3 separate regions of the Homo sapiens genome follow, and regions 1 and 3 are each linked to region 2. The links are contacts of gene promoters, found by promoter capture Hi-C in human tissues and cell types (Jung and others, 2019). All regions are on one chromosome and are shown on one strand. The core of a region is centred on a gene start or on the middle of the fragment in contact, and the rest is flanking DNA. Distances in the headings are between cores, read along the strand shown.

Region 1 (4,054 bases), core at 1,515-4,014, 280 kb before region 2:
GAACTCCCCGCTCCCCAGGATTTGAATGTTGATTTCTTTAGAATTGGGTCTCCGGCTTTCTCCTTACTTTCAATCTGCTTTCCTTAGGGATCTCATTCACTCCAATCTATGTGCTGGTAACTCCCAAAATCTCATCTTCAGGCTTGACCATTTCTTCGTGATCCACATGCATATATTTATTTCCTTATGGGACATTTCCATGAACTCTCCAATTTCAACATATCCAAAATGGAACTTCTATTTCTTCCTCCATTGGCTTCTACTCCTGGGCTTCTCATTTTATGGAATGGCTCCACCATCCACTTAGTATCCTGAGTAAGTAACCTGGGTGTTATCCTCAACTCCTACCTTGTCCTTACACCTCACTTTCTGTGATTCTTCAGCTTTGCCACTGAAAAGCTAACCATTGCCCCGCTTTCCACACTGTACATTTTGGAAGGAAGTCTCCATGCCATACGTGTACTTAAGGAGTGAAGAGTTATGCTCCCCATTTTCCTGACTTTTTGTTTTTCTTGAGATAGGTTCTCACTCTGTCACCCAGGCTAGAGCACAGTGGTATAATTCTAGCTCACTGCAGCCTTGACCTCCTGGGCTCAAGCGATCTTCTGCCCCGGTCTCCCCAGTAGCTGCAACTACAGGTGTGCACAAAATGCCTGGCTAATTTTTAAATTTTGTGTAGAGAGTGGGTCTTGCTATGTTGCCAAGGCTGGTCTCACACTCCTGGCTTCAGGTGATCCTCCCACCTTGGCCTCCCAAAGTACTGGAATTACAGACGTGAGCCGCTGCACCTGGCCCTAACTTTTTCAAGTGATGCAAAGAAGTAGGGAACAGGTGGTGGCAATGGTGCCCATGACAGCATCTGGCGTGCAGTGCTGGTGCACAGCACCCCATACCTGGTGTTGGCAGCAGTGCGTTTCATTTCAGGCAGCTCCTATTCCTGAATATCTTGTCTGCTTAGCCGTCCTTGGCTCTTGCCAATTTTCAGAACCAATTCTCTAGCCTTCCCAGTGATTTGTAAACATCCAATGTTTCTTTCTTTAAATACCTTTTCTGCTTAAGTCTGAGTCCATTTCTCTTGCTTGCAGTTGAGAATCCAGACTGAAAAATCTTGTAGATTCAACTTTTAACATATCTCTTGACTCTGACATCTTTTCTCTATTTCTGTGGTGAAGAGACTGCCAACTCCACCCCCAGAATCTATTCCCCTCATATACCTTTGGATAATAGAACCCCCTGAGTTTTAGCTGGGCACGTGGCCACCCTGCCATGGACTACATTTCCTAGACTTTCTTTGAGCTAAGCATGACAGCAGTGATAAGTACAACCACATCTCCTTAAAGCCAAAGCTGCTTGCTGCCCTGGACTTTCTTTCCCCTTTGTTGCCGGCTGGGAAATGGCAACAACTGAAGCAGCAGCCTTGGATCCAGCAATGGCAGCCACATGTTGGGTTTGGCAGAGCAGGCCAGCCAGCTGGATTTCTGGATGATTTTGCAAAGCAGAGATATCTGCCCACCGTCAGCCACCCACCTAGCTTTGGCCAGAATTGTGGGAAAGAAATACACTTATATCTCATTTAAGCCACTGTATTTGGACCTCTTTCTTATAATAGCTTAGCCTGTATCCCAACCAATACCCGATGCTACCTCATTTGTCACACAATTTTATGGAGACTTTGCATCCCTTACTAGAACTACTCAACAGCTTCCTTGATGATCTCGTTAACTCCAGTGTTCCTCCCAACACTAGTCTATCCTCCATGTTGGTGGTCTCCAACATTTTTGGCACCAGGGACCAGTTTTGTGGAAGACAATTTTTCCATGGATAGGGGAGTAGGGAATGGTTTCATCAGGCATTAGATAGATTCTTATATGGAGCAGATAACCCTTGCATGCGCAGTTCATAGTAAGGTTTACACTCCTATGAGAATCTAATGCCACTGTTGATCTGACAGGAGCTGGAGCTTAGGTGGTAATACTCACTCACCTACAGCTCACCTCCTGCTGTGCAGCCCGGTTCCTAACAGACTGTGCACGGGTACTGGTCCATGGCCCCTGGGTTGGGGGCCCCTGCTGTACGTTTCCTGCTGAAGGGATATATCTAAAATTCAAATCCACTTGGAGAAACTTCCCATCATCCTTTAAGACCCAAATTTATTAGAATAAGACATGGGATCTGTATGATCTGCCAATCCTCTGTCTCTACTCCCCCTAGGCACCTATCGTTCAAATCATGCACAGATCACCTTGAGGTTCCCTGGTCATGGACCGCGATGTTCTGACTCCCGTTTCTTTGCTTGAGTGCTCCTTCTGCCCCAAACACTTTTCCCTTTCAACTGCCTCACTAACTCTTGCTTTTCTCCCAGCTCTCAGCTCCAGCTGAGAGTTCTTCTCAAGACATCTTCTCTGGCCCCTCCTCACCCCAGGCTGTGTTTTAGTTCCCTTGTGTGTACTTTCACAGCTCCTTGGGAGTCCCTAATAGCACTCACTAACTTGGTTACAATTTATCAGCCTGCTAGCCTGAGCTGCTCTCAGAGCTTCAGAAAACCAACTGTAGTCACTGTTGGACCATGTTTCTCCCAGCCAGAGGCCATCCTCCAACACAGGAGCAATGCTTCTCCACAAGGACTTTGCCCACAACAAGGGCAGCAGCTCATGCTGACTGCCAAGATCAATCTTACTGTCTGCCCTAGTGACATCCAGATCCCAGTTTTCCCTTTTCTTCTTTCAGAGAGCCCATTCTTCTCAGCTTGCACAACTGATCAGAGGTGGGGTGACTCGCTAAGTTACCAACTCCCAGCCTGAGATTCTACTTGCATCGTGCTCAGCAGTTGCCAGTAGCAGTCTCCAATGTGTAGATGGCAACCAGCATAGATCCTGGGCAGTGATGATGTGCGGTCACCAGCCAGAGAGGCAGGTGCTGGGAGCAAAGGGGAAATAGAGCAGAGCGGGGTGGATGTCCAGCTTAGTCTCTGCAGCTCACAGTGCTAGCCTGTGATTTCACAGTTGGCTCTACAAAACAGGCAGTGGGCCAAATTTGGCCCACGGAATGTAGTTTGTTGGCCCCTGCCCTAGATAATCAACAGAACAATAAATCAAGCCCTGGTTTGTAGTGTTTGCCAATTTCTGTGGTACAAATACTCCCACCATGGCCAATTTCAAGTTGCCAACATGACCCCACTGAATATTGGGCTGGGAAGACACGCAGTAGCACACGATTATGTAATATTTCCACCTTAAAGATACAATACGCGTGACCTCAACATCAGAGCTGACAGTAAAACACAGTGAAATAATAATGATTTTTGAGTATTTATTACTCTTGTTTATAATGATTTACTTACTTGTAAATTTCTATGATTTAGTATTTAATAATAGCTGAAAATTTAACAGTCCTTGGTCCGTAGCACACCACTGCGCTGGGTCTCTCACTACTCCAGCCATATGGGAGGGAATCGAGAAAAGACACCCAAAAGAGAGATCTGACACAGATCTCTTGACATGGAAGCTTTGACATAGAAGGTTTAAACTCTTCTATTCCTTCCACTGAAGACTTTATCTCCTAGGCAATGTCCAATTGGGATCTTAGTCTCACAAAGATGAGATATTTTTCCTTCGGGACAGAGTGAAAGGGGTTTTTGAGCACCCCCTAGTGGTTACAGTGTGTCACCAATATGAACTCCACATATTCTGTGTTCTTTTGCGTTCTACTCCCATTAGGTGCTGTTGGCCGTGTACCTACTGTGTGCCAGGTACTTTTTTGGAAACATTCTATACGTTTTATTGCCTAATATTTACAGCAAACTTGCAAGTCAACATTCTTGTGTAAATTTTACAGATAAAGAAACTAAGGCTCAGAGAGGTTAAGCAACTAGCCCAAAGGCCACACAGCTAGGTCACATCAGACATAGCATTCAAATCCTAGAAGTGGCTGCCTCCCAAGCTTTGTACTGTCTTTTGCTCCTCTTTGACATCTTTTTTTTTTAACTTTTATTTTAGGTTCAGGGGTACATGTACAAGTTTGTCATGTCATGTGGGTTTGTTGTACAGATTATGTC
Region 2 (4,159 bases), core at 1,328-3,827:
GGTTTTCTCAACTGACATCATGTTTTTAAAATTTGTTTCCATAGCGACATTGTTAAGAAGACATACTGATATTTCTGAAGACTTAAGAGTACTTCAGAACACAGAAAAAATTAGCCGACGGAAAGGGAAAGGGGAAACAAAGAAACTGAAAGAAGGCCTAACATACAAATGGAACGACCTGAAGAGAAATGGAGAACCTGGAGAAACTGGTGTTAGCCAGTCTTAGAGTTCCTCTGAGATCTTGCAGGATTATTCTTATTATTTTTTATATTTGCAGAAATCAACTCAAATCAGACAATAAAGTCTTGCAATGCATCAAAACATGATGATAACCAAACCCTAGAACTCAAAAAAATCTCAGCTTAGGGCCATCACCATCTTCACAAGGAGGAAATCACATTTCCTGGTGACTTTCAGGAGACCTGGAGCAGCTTAAAGTTGTGTGAAGACCTCAGTGGAACTGTTTTAAGGTTTTTGCCTTGCCTTTCCTGAAGGAGGTCAAAACCCTTCAGGTCCACTCAAAAGGAGAAAAAAAATTCCAAAAGTTTACTTTAAAATGGAAACAAACGCCTCAATAACTTGTGAAAGCACTCTTTGGTGGAGAAAAATCTGAGGAACCCTTAAAAGCCCTCATTTCCTTGCATAATGAATAGACAGTGAGGAACCACCACAAGGTTTCCCTCTGGAAAGAGAGAAGGAGTAGGCAAGCAAGCCTCCTCCTCCTCCAGCCATCACCAACAGAGCTTCAAAATGGAGACATCCATAATTTTATAAACACTTCTCATCTCAGCTTTGTCTCCTGGAAACCCGCTCTCCTCCATTTTCTGGTGGAGTTACAACATGACACGGCTTACCTGACTCAGTTCCCAGCTCTTAACCAAACTAGTCACTTCCTCCAAAAACCTGCAAGCAACCTCCAGAAACAAAACCAAAGCAAACCAAACAGCCAACACAGACACTCAGACACAGCCCCCGGGAGCCCTGGGAGAAAGCCCCAACTGGTTGGTCTTTCCCCATCCCAGACGCGTGCTTAAAAATGAAACTTTTTTTTTTCTTGGTTGGGGAGGAATATAAAAGGAACTCCAGGCAGCCTCCCTCCCTCCCTCTCTGTAGGTTAGAAGCCACAATGAAAAGAAAACGAGGGTTCCTTCAGGAATGGTGAACAGCCTGGAGAATGAACGTGAGAAGGAGCTTTGTGTTTTGGAGTCTGGACTGGAACCAAAGCAGACAGCTTGCAAATGGAGGACAGGGAGATAAAGAAAGGGAAAGAGGGGCTGCTCCAATGGGGGGCGGCTGCGGCTTCCCCTCGTGCCTGGAAGGAGGGCAGACCCCTGGGAACTGCACCAGGAGTGAGACGCCCCCCCAGGCCCCTGCCTTCCTTTCTCCCTTCCTCAGAGGAGAGCCAAGCGTGTGTAATGGCTTCTCCTCTCCAGAAACCGTTGTCCTCCTCCACCAGACGCTTCTGAACCTCCAGCCTGGAGACAGCTCCTCAGCCGCTCCTGAACCTGCGCCCCCCACCCGGCCGGTGCCCCCCGCTCCTCGCCTCTCTGTTCACCAGCAGCACCGGCACCAGCAGCTGCAGCAGCCACCCCCCGACACATCCCGACCCCGCATCCCAACTTCGGGGAGAGGGAGAGAGAGAGAGAGAGAGAGAGAGAGAGAGAGAGAGAGAGAGAGAGAGAGAGAGAGAGAGAGAGAGAGAGCCAAATACCTGAGGAAGAGGGGGGCTGCCAATCCGCACGGCTTTGCCATCGGGCGGGGGACAGGCAGACAGAAGGGGGAAAGGAAGGAGAGGGACAGAGAAAGAAAGAGGTCAACCCGCTCAGGTCGGGGCCGCTCGCACGGAGCTCTCCCTCCTCTGACCCTCGCTCGCTCCCTCTGGCTCTCGGCTCAGGTCTCCGGCCTCCCGCCCTCCGCCCCCCTCTGTCCCTACTCCTGTCCCCACACTCGGAGCATCCGTCCTAAGCCTCCAGCTCTCTTCTCACTCATCTTTCATTTTCTCTTCTCTTCATAGAACTACACGAAATTAATTAAGCCACCGCGCTCACTCCCCCCAGCAGGAGCAGCAGCCAGCAGGAAAAGCACAGCCACCTCCACTGCCACCACTACCACCTTCTCCTCCTCTTCCTCCTCCTCCTCTTCCTCCCTCGCTTCTCCTCCTCCTCTTCCTCCTCCCCCTCCTGCTCTCCCTCCTCCCCCTCCTCCTCTTCTCTCTCGCTTCTTCTCCTCTTCCAACAGCCAGTCCATGCAGGGGACTTCCTCTCCTCCCCGCTCCTCCAACCCTCCTTGGCCGAATGAATGAGCGCGTTTGTGCCTCCACCACCCCGCGCTCTCTTCCCCGGAGCACTCGGACCACCCCGAGGTGGTTGTTAATTGCAGTAACTTACAGAAGAAGCGTCCCGGCGCCGGGAGGTGCTTCGGGTTCTCCAGCCCCACCGCCTCCTTATCCTCTTTCTCTTTCTCCTCTTCCTGCTCGGGTTATTGTTGTGGAAGTTGTTTGGGAGTCTCATGTGCTTCTGCCGGGTCTCAGCAATGGAGGATCGCCATCTTCCCTGCCTTCCTCGGCTCCTCAGACTCGCTGCAGCTGCAGATGACCTGAGATATCCGTCTCTCTCCCTCTCTCTCTCTCTCCCTCCCTCCCTCTCCCTCTCACTCTCTCTCTCCCCTCTCTCTCCTCTTCTCTCTCCTCTCCTCCCTCTCCCTCGCGCGCTCTCTCTCTCTCCCTCCCTCTGTGTCTCTCTCTGAATAATGAGCAACCAGGGGGAGAGAGAAAGCAAGACAGAAAGAGAGAAGGAAGACAATCTTCTCCTGCCACACAAAACGCCGGAGCACCAGGGGGTGCGCGAAGCCTTTCTAATAACAACAACAACGTGCAGCAGAGAGGAAGGAAAAAAAGAAAGAAAGAAAGAAATGAGGAAAAAGGCTAGGGGAAAAAAGAGGAAGAATTATCCAAGAGCTCGAGAAGAGCAGAAGGAGAAGCTGGAGGAGATGCTGAGGCTGCTGCTGCTGTTCCCCCTCCCCCCTGCTGAACCCCAGAAGGAGGCAAGGTGGTTGCAAAGTTAAGGCTGGGACATTGTCTTTGTCACTCAGAGCCAGGCCAGTGAGATGCAAGAGGAGGAGGTGGCGGCGGCAGAGGAGGAGGAGGTGGTGGTGGAGGAGGGGGAGGAAGAGGAGGAGAAGGAGGCAAAGGAGAAGGAGGCAAAGGAGAAGGAGAAGGGGAAGAGGGAGATGAGATGATGAATAAAGACCTGCGGAGAAGGCGGTGCGAGGAGCGCGGCCGCCGGGCCGAGGCGTGCGCGCTCGCGTCCCGGTGGCGCCCGGCAGCCCTGGCCCGCAGAGGAAGCCCCCGGTGAGGACCCTGCCCGGCAGCTCATAGCGCTCCCAACGTCAGCCCTGCCCGAGGCGCCGAGCCCGAGCCCCAGAGGGTCCCTTACTTGCATCCATCTAGAGGCCAACCTTTGCAAAGAACATACGTGGGGAACTGGAGGTTGCAAGTATAAACCCAGATCAACCACGTGGGGCTTTTTAATCCCTTTCCAGCTTGCGGTGTGAGTATTTCCAGTGAAAAGCTCAAATTGTCCATTACTGGCACGTATTTTGAAGTCTTCTCTCCTGAAATAAAGGCTCATTGTGCGTTTTATTTCTTTCCTGATATGGAAGGTGGGGGGGTGGAGGAGGAAAAGAGCCCATCATTCCGAGCTTCGGAACCACCACTTTCTTTTCCTAACTTGTGAAATGTTTTGACTGCGCACCAAAAGAAAAAAAGAACGCCTGCTTAAATAACTTTACACCCTCCAGCCCCGCGTTGTTTGCACTTTCTGGCTGATCATCTAAAGGCTCGGAAAGTAACAATCAGCGCTCTTAATGATAAGGTGTCATGGTGTTGAAGACACGCGAGCCAAGATGAAGCTTTCACACCTTGAATTTTTATTTAGTGTAATCTCTCCCGTATCATTCTGAACTATCTCTTTTGCAAAGGAGTGGTTCCCCCCCTCCACCACCAGGTCGAAAGTCTCCTACGGTTTTAATTGGACTGGGAGCGGTGGGGGTTGGGGATGGGGGTTCTACAGTATCAAAAAAATCAATGCAGCAAGTCAGGAGCAATTGAAGTTCAAGGGCATGGGCTGATTGTACCATTTCTATTTCTTGGATCTTGGAG
Region 3 (4,491 bases), core at 1,819-4,318, 400 kb after region 2:
ATTGACTGGAAGCCTTACCAATAACAAAAACTGTCAATTAATATATATTTTGTATGTAATATATATTCTATACTGTACTCATAATAAAGTAAGCTAGAGAAAAAATGTTAAGAAAATCATGAAGAAGAGGATATGTATTTACTATTCATTAAGTGGAAGTGAATCATCATGAAGATCTTTCTCCTTATTGTCTTCACGATGAGTAGGCTGAGGAGGAGGTGGAAGAAGAGGAGTTGGCCTTGCTGTCTCAGGGGTGGGAGAGATGAAAGAAGATCTGTGTGTAAGTGGACCTACAGTGGATAAAAATCCATGTTGGTCAAGGGTCAACTGCATATTATAGACAAAAATATATATGCATAAATATCATAATAATTGTAAAGAAGCACATGCAGCAGGAATAACAGGACCTGCTTCAGGTAGGTGGTCATGAAAGGCATCTTGAGGAGGTAACATTTAAGCTGATAAATTAAGTAGTGGTCTCCAGAAAGAGGACTCACTGACAAAAGACTGTGTCAGAGACCTACTAAGATGTAGAAAAAATGTTAACCTCAATTGATATTTTTAAAATCAAAAAATAAGAAGTTAAATTCTACTAATATCTACCGATGTTCTCTCTCTATCTCTCTTTTTTCCTCCCTATGCATTTGTCAGATGTCATATGTCATCTGTGGGACCAAACCGTGTGACCACATGTTACACATTTCAAATTGTAGCAAAAATAACAAATGGATTTACTCCTTCATTGTTCTGTTGAATGTTCTATTTTGGCAGCCCCAATTTCCAGAACAAAGATAAAAGGCCAAGAGGCTGATCCCAGGAGCAACTCTACTTTTGCCTCAGGATTTTTCATGTGACCACATGTCACACGGTTTGAGTCTCTGGAGAGAGAAAATGGAATTCCACAATGTTGAGGGAGAAAAAAGACAGCAGCACCTCACTTGTTCCTTCTCTTTCCATGATAGTAATACATAACGCTATGTATAGCAGTATATGTAAATGCCTGGTTAAGCAAATTTTCAGATTATATTATCTAGTTTTCAATAAATGAAGACTGTCAAAATTGACAGACAGCTTTAATAGTTTCTTCCAAAGAAACCATGGATAAAAAATAATCATAATAAGGCAAATCCAAGCAACAATAAAACAGCAACTGAGACATCTATTTTTAGTATAAGATCTTCTTATGCTTCTTTATGGAGTGAAATGATAGTCATATGTACATGACTTAAAACATAAATTTGTACCAAATATCCTTAACAATGTATTATTAATGAAGCAAAATAATTATTTAAATATTATCTTATCTTTAATACTTATGTTATGCATCTATATTTGTGTATATTTCATAATGAAAATAATATGTTAGCAAAGGAGTACTTGTATATATATTATAAATAAATAAATATAGTTAATTTAGTAGTACAGGTTCAATGTTTTTGTTTGTTTTGTTTTGTTTTTCAGATGGAGTCTTGCTCTGTTTCACAGCCTGGAGTGCAATGGCATGATCTTGGCTCACTGCAACTCTGCCTCCCAGGTTCAAGCGATTCTCCTGCCTCAGCCTCCCGAGAAGCTGGGATTACAGGCACCCACCACCATGCCCAGCTAATTTTTTTGTATTTTTAGTAGATATGGGGTTTCACCATGTTGGCTAGTCTGGTCTCGAACTCCTGACCTCAAGTGATCCACTCACCTCGGCCACCCAAAGTGCTGAGATTACAGACAGGAGCCACCTCACCTGGCCAGGTTCAATGTTTTTGCCCCATGATAATCAAAAATATTTGAAGACTATGGATGTAAGGGATGAGAAGCAATTAGCCATGTGACAAGTAGAGAAATAGACAATCTGGGCAGATGGAATGGTATCTGCAAAGGCCTGTTTGAAGAACCGAGGAAAATCCAGTATAGCTGGGGTGCGTACCGTGGAAAGGAAAAGTAATGTGAGATGAAATGGAGTGATAGGCAAGGACAAGTTCACAGAGGACCCTGGACTATAGTAAAAGATTTATACTTTAGTGAAATTACCAAGACCTTTAAATGTTTAAAGCAGTGATGGAATGATGAAATTTAAGTCTAAGTTTAAAAAAAATGTATATGGCTGTTATTGGATGATGAAATCATGCTGGGTAGACATGGAAGTGAAGCAACCAGTTAGGAGGCTGGTATAGTAATTCAAGCAAGAGATTATTGTGTCATGAACCAATGTAGTGACAGTATAGATAAAGAGAAGCAGATAGATTTTAAAAACATGTTGGGTATTAACTCAACAGTACTTGCAGACGGATGGAATGAGAGTGGGAAGTTGATGAAGAGAATGAAGAAATCAGGAAAATTTTCCAGGTTTCTTGCTTGAACAACATAATGTAAGTTGGTATTATGTATAAAGAAGGGGAGTGGGTTTGATGACAGAATCAAGATTTCTGTTATAGGAATATTAGGTTTGAGATTTCTGTGGGAAATTTAAGAGATGATGGTAATCAGGTGGTTGGATGTACATGTTGTATGGAACTCACAAGAGAAATACCATTGGCTGTCCTTAGCTGTTAGTACCTTCAAGGTAAGATCTAACATCTTTAAAGCCTTAGGACTTGGCTCATTACAGTGATAGGCGCTGAGAAAATGTCTATTGAATCCAGGAGTTTGGGAGAAAGGGAGTAAAGGGAAGAACACTTGACTAGAATTTGTAGGTCAAGGTGGCAGCCATTGTCCCGGCACATACTAGACATAGACCTTCCATAGCTAATGGTACAGTCATTCTCAACTGAAAAGGAGCAATTAGGCATGTCAAAGTCAATGACAAAAGAAAAGTGCCTCAATCAGTTCTGGGACAAGCTCTGAAAAATCCTGAGGCAAAAGTAGAGTTTCTCCTTGGATCAGCCCCTTGGCATTTTATCTTTGTTCTGGAAATTGGGGCTGCCAAAATAGAACATTCAACAGAACAATGAAGGAGTAAATCCATTTGTTGTTTTTGCTACAATTTGAATATCAACTGAAAAAAATTTAAGATCCATTAGAAAATTTAAGGAAGTGATTAAATATAAGATACATTTTAAAAATTCAATAGTTTCCCTATATAGCAAACAGTATTAATTAGAAATATAAATACAAAAAGTATTCAATTCATCCTGAGCCTCCCCTGCCAAAAAACACCCTAAGACTAATCTTCATGAACAATGTTTAGGAATAAAGTAAACAAAACCTATAAAACTACCCTGAGAAATATAAATTAAGATTTAAATAATAGGGAGGCAGATTGTCCTCCTATACTATTATTATCTTTAGTATTTCAAGAGTACAAATTCTTCCAAATTTTGGTATAGGACTAAGAAAATGACAGTCAAAATCACAATGGAGTTATTTTTTGAACTTGGTGAAATCACTCAAAAGTTTATATTGAAGAATACACATGTGAGAATCAAAAGCCAGTGGGTAAAGAAGAGTGAGAGAGGAGGAGCACAGTCTGTGGCCCAAGGTAAAAGCACAAGGATTAGGACAAGATAAGGGCCCTCTTTATATAACAAGGGTTTCTACTCTCTCTGTAGGTGCTTGATACCACCCATATATCTGGTAAGCATCCGAGGCCAATTTCAGAACTTCCATTTAACTGTATCATCCGTTATAACAGAATCTTTCATTCTGGCATCTAACCCATTGTTTTTATAATTTTTTAAAATGGCTGATTTCTCACTAGACTATTTTTTCATATTTATATTTCTACTGTCTAACACAGTATGTCATACATTGAAATTGTTTCACAATATTTCTCATGAACAAATGAATAAATGTTCTGGAGATCCTAGTACTTTACTGCTGTATTCCTGGATCAGAATTTTGTTCAGTCAATATTTATTACTAATAAATTAGCACTGACTAATGCTACGAGAGATACTAGAGAAGCCAAAAACCATTCCATTGATGAGAATTATTAAGCTTCTTAAGGGAATTATTTCTAGTACCTCTGAGTACAGATTATTTGTTTCTCCAAACACCTGAATACCTATTTCTCAAACCTCTGACATTTTACAGTGACCACTTAAGAACAGCCACATATGGTATCCAACCTGAGTTAGAGTCCTGGCAATGGCGTGACTTAAAAGGGGCTCTCAAGCTTAATAGCTCCTGTGTTTTCTGGATTTATAAGGAAATGTGTCTTTGTTTTACTCACAAAAGCATTTTTTAAGAGATCTCAAGAATTTGAAGGTTTGAAATGATAAAAAATGCTCATATTTTTTCACAGCTAGAAATCTGGAGCAGGGTTTTACTACCAACCTCCTTCTTCCTGCTTTGAAGCAAGAATAGGAAGCTCTTGCTGTTTATTACTGCTGGTTCATCAGACAGTCAATTTTAAGGCCATATTGGATAGTTATTGATTGATGTTCTTTTTCAAAATTATTTGAAAATCCTGACAATTCATTGTCTATTTGTGAACTTTGTTATTCAAAATGCTGTTGAATGAACCTCACTTAACTGAAAAAGTAGTCTGGTTGTCCCTGC

Evidence for each region. Contacts are between HindIII fragments. The study calls those that stand out against the background at their distance.
Region 1: a contact is called between a fragment that was not itself captured here and the fragment with the promoter of ZNF462 in region 2, in 2 of the 25 tissues and cell types used here (H1 embryonic stem cells and hippocampus).
Region 3: a contact is called between a fragment that was not itself captured here and the fragment with the promoter of ZNF462 in region 2, in 2 of the 25 tissues and cell types used here (H1 embryonic stem cells and liver).

The regions. Positions count from the first base shown.
Region 1 is chr9:107,137,386-107,141,439 of GRCh38, reverse strand. No RefSeq gene overlaps it. Among named protein-coding and RNA genes, the nearest start is that of RAD23B, 140 kb to the left of the region's middle. The HindIII fragment of the contact is 4,535 bases long and covers 497-4,054 here.
Region 2 is chr9:106,861,584-106,865,742 of GRCh38, reverse strand. ZNF462 (zinc finger protein 462) reads right to left here and starts at 2,577. Exons shown (of 13, transcript NM_021224.6): 1 at 2,388-2,577. The HindIII fragment of the contact is 13,314 bases long and covers 1-4,159 here.
Region 3 is chr9:106,459,817-106,464,307 of GRCh38, reverse strand. The region is part of intron 3 of LOC107987108 (a long non-coding RNA gene); the gene reads right to left. Among named protein-coding and RNA genes, the nearest start is that of MIR8081, 140 kb to the left of the region's middle. The HindIII fragment of the contact is 4,466 bases long and covers 836-4,491 here.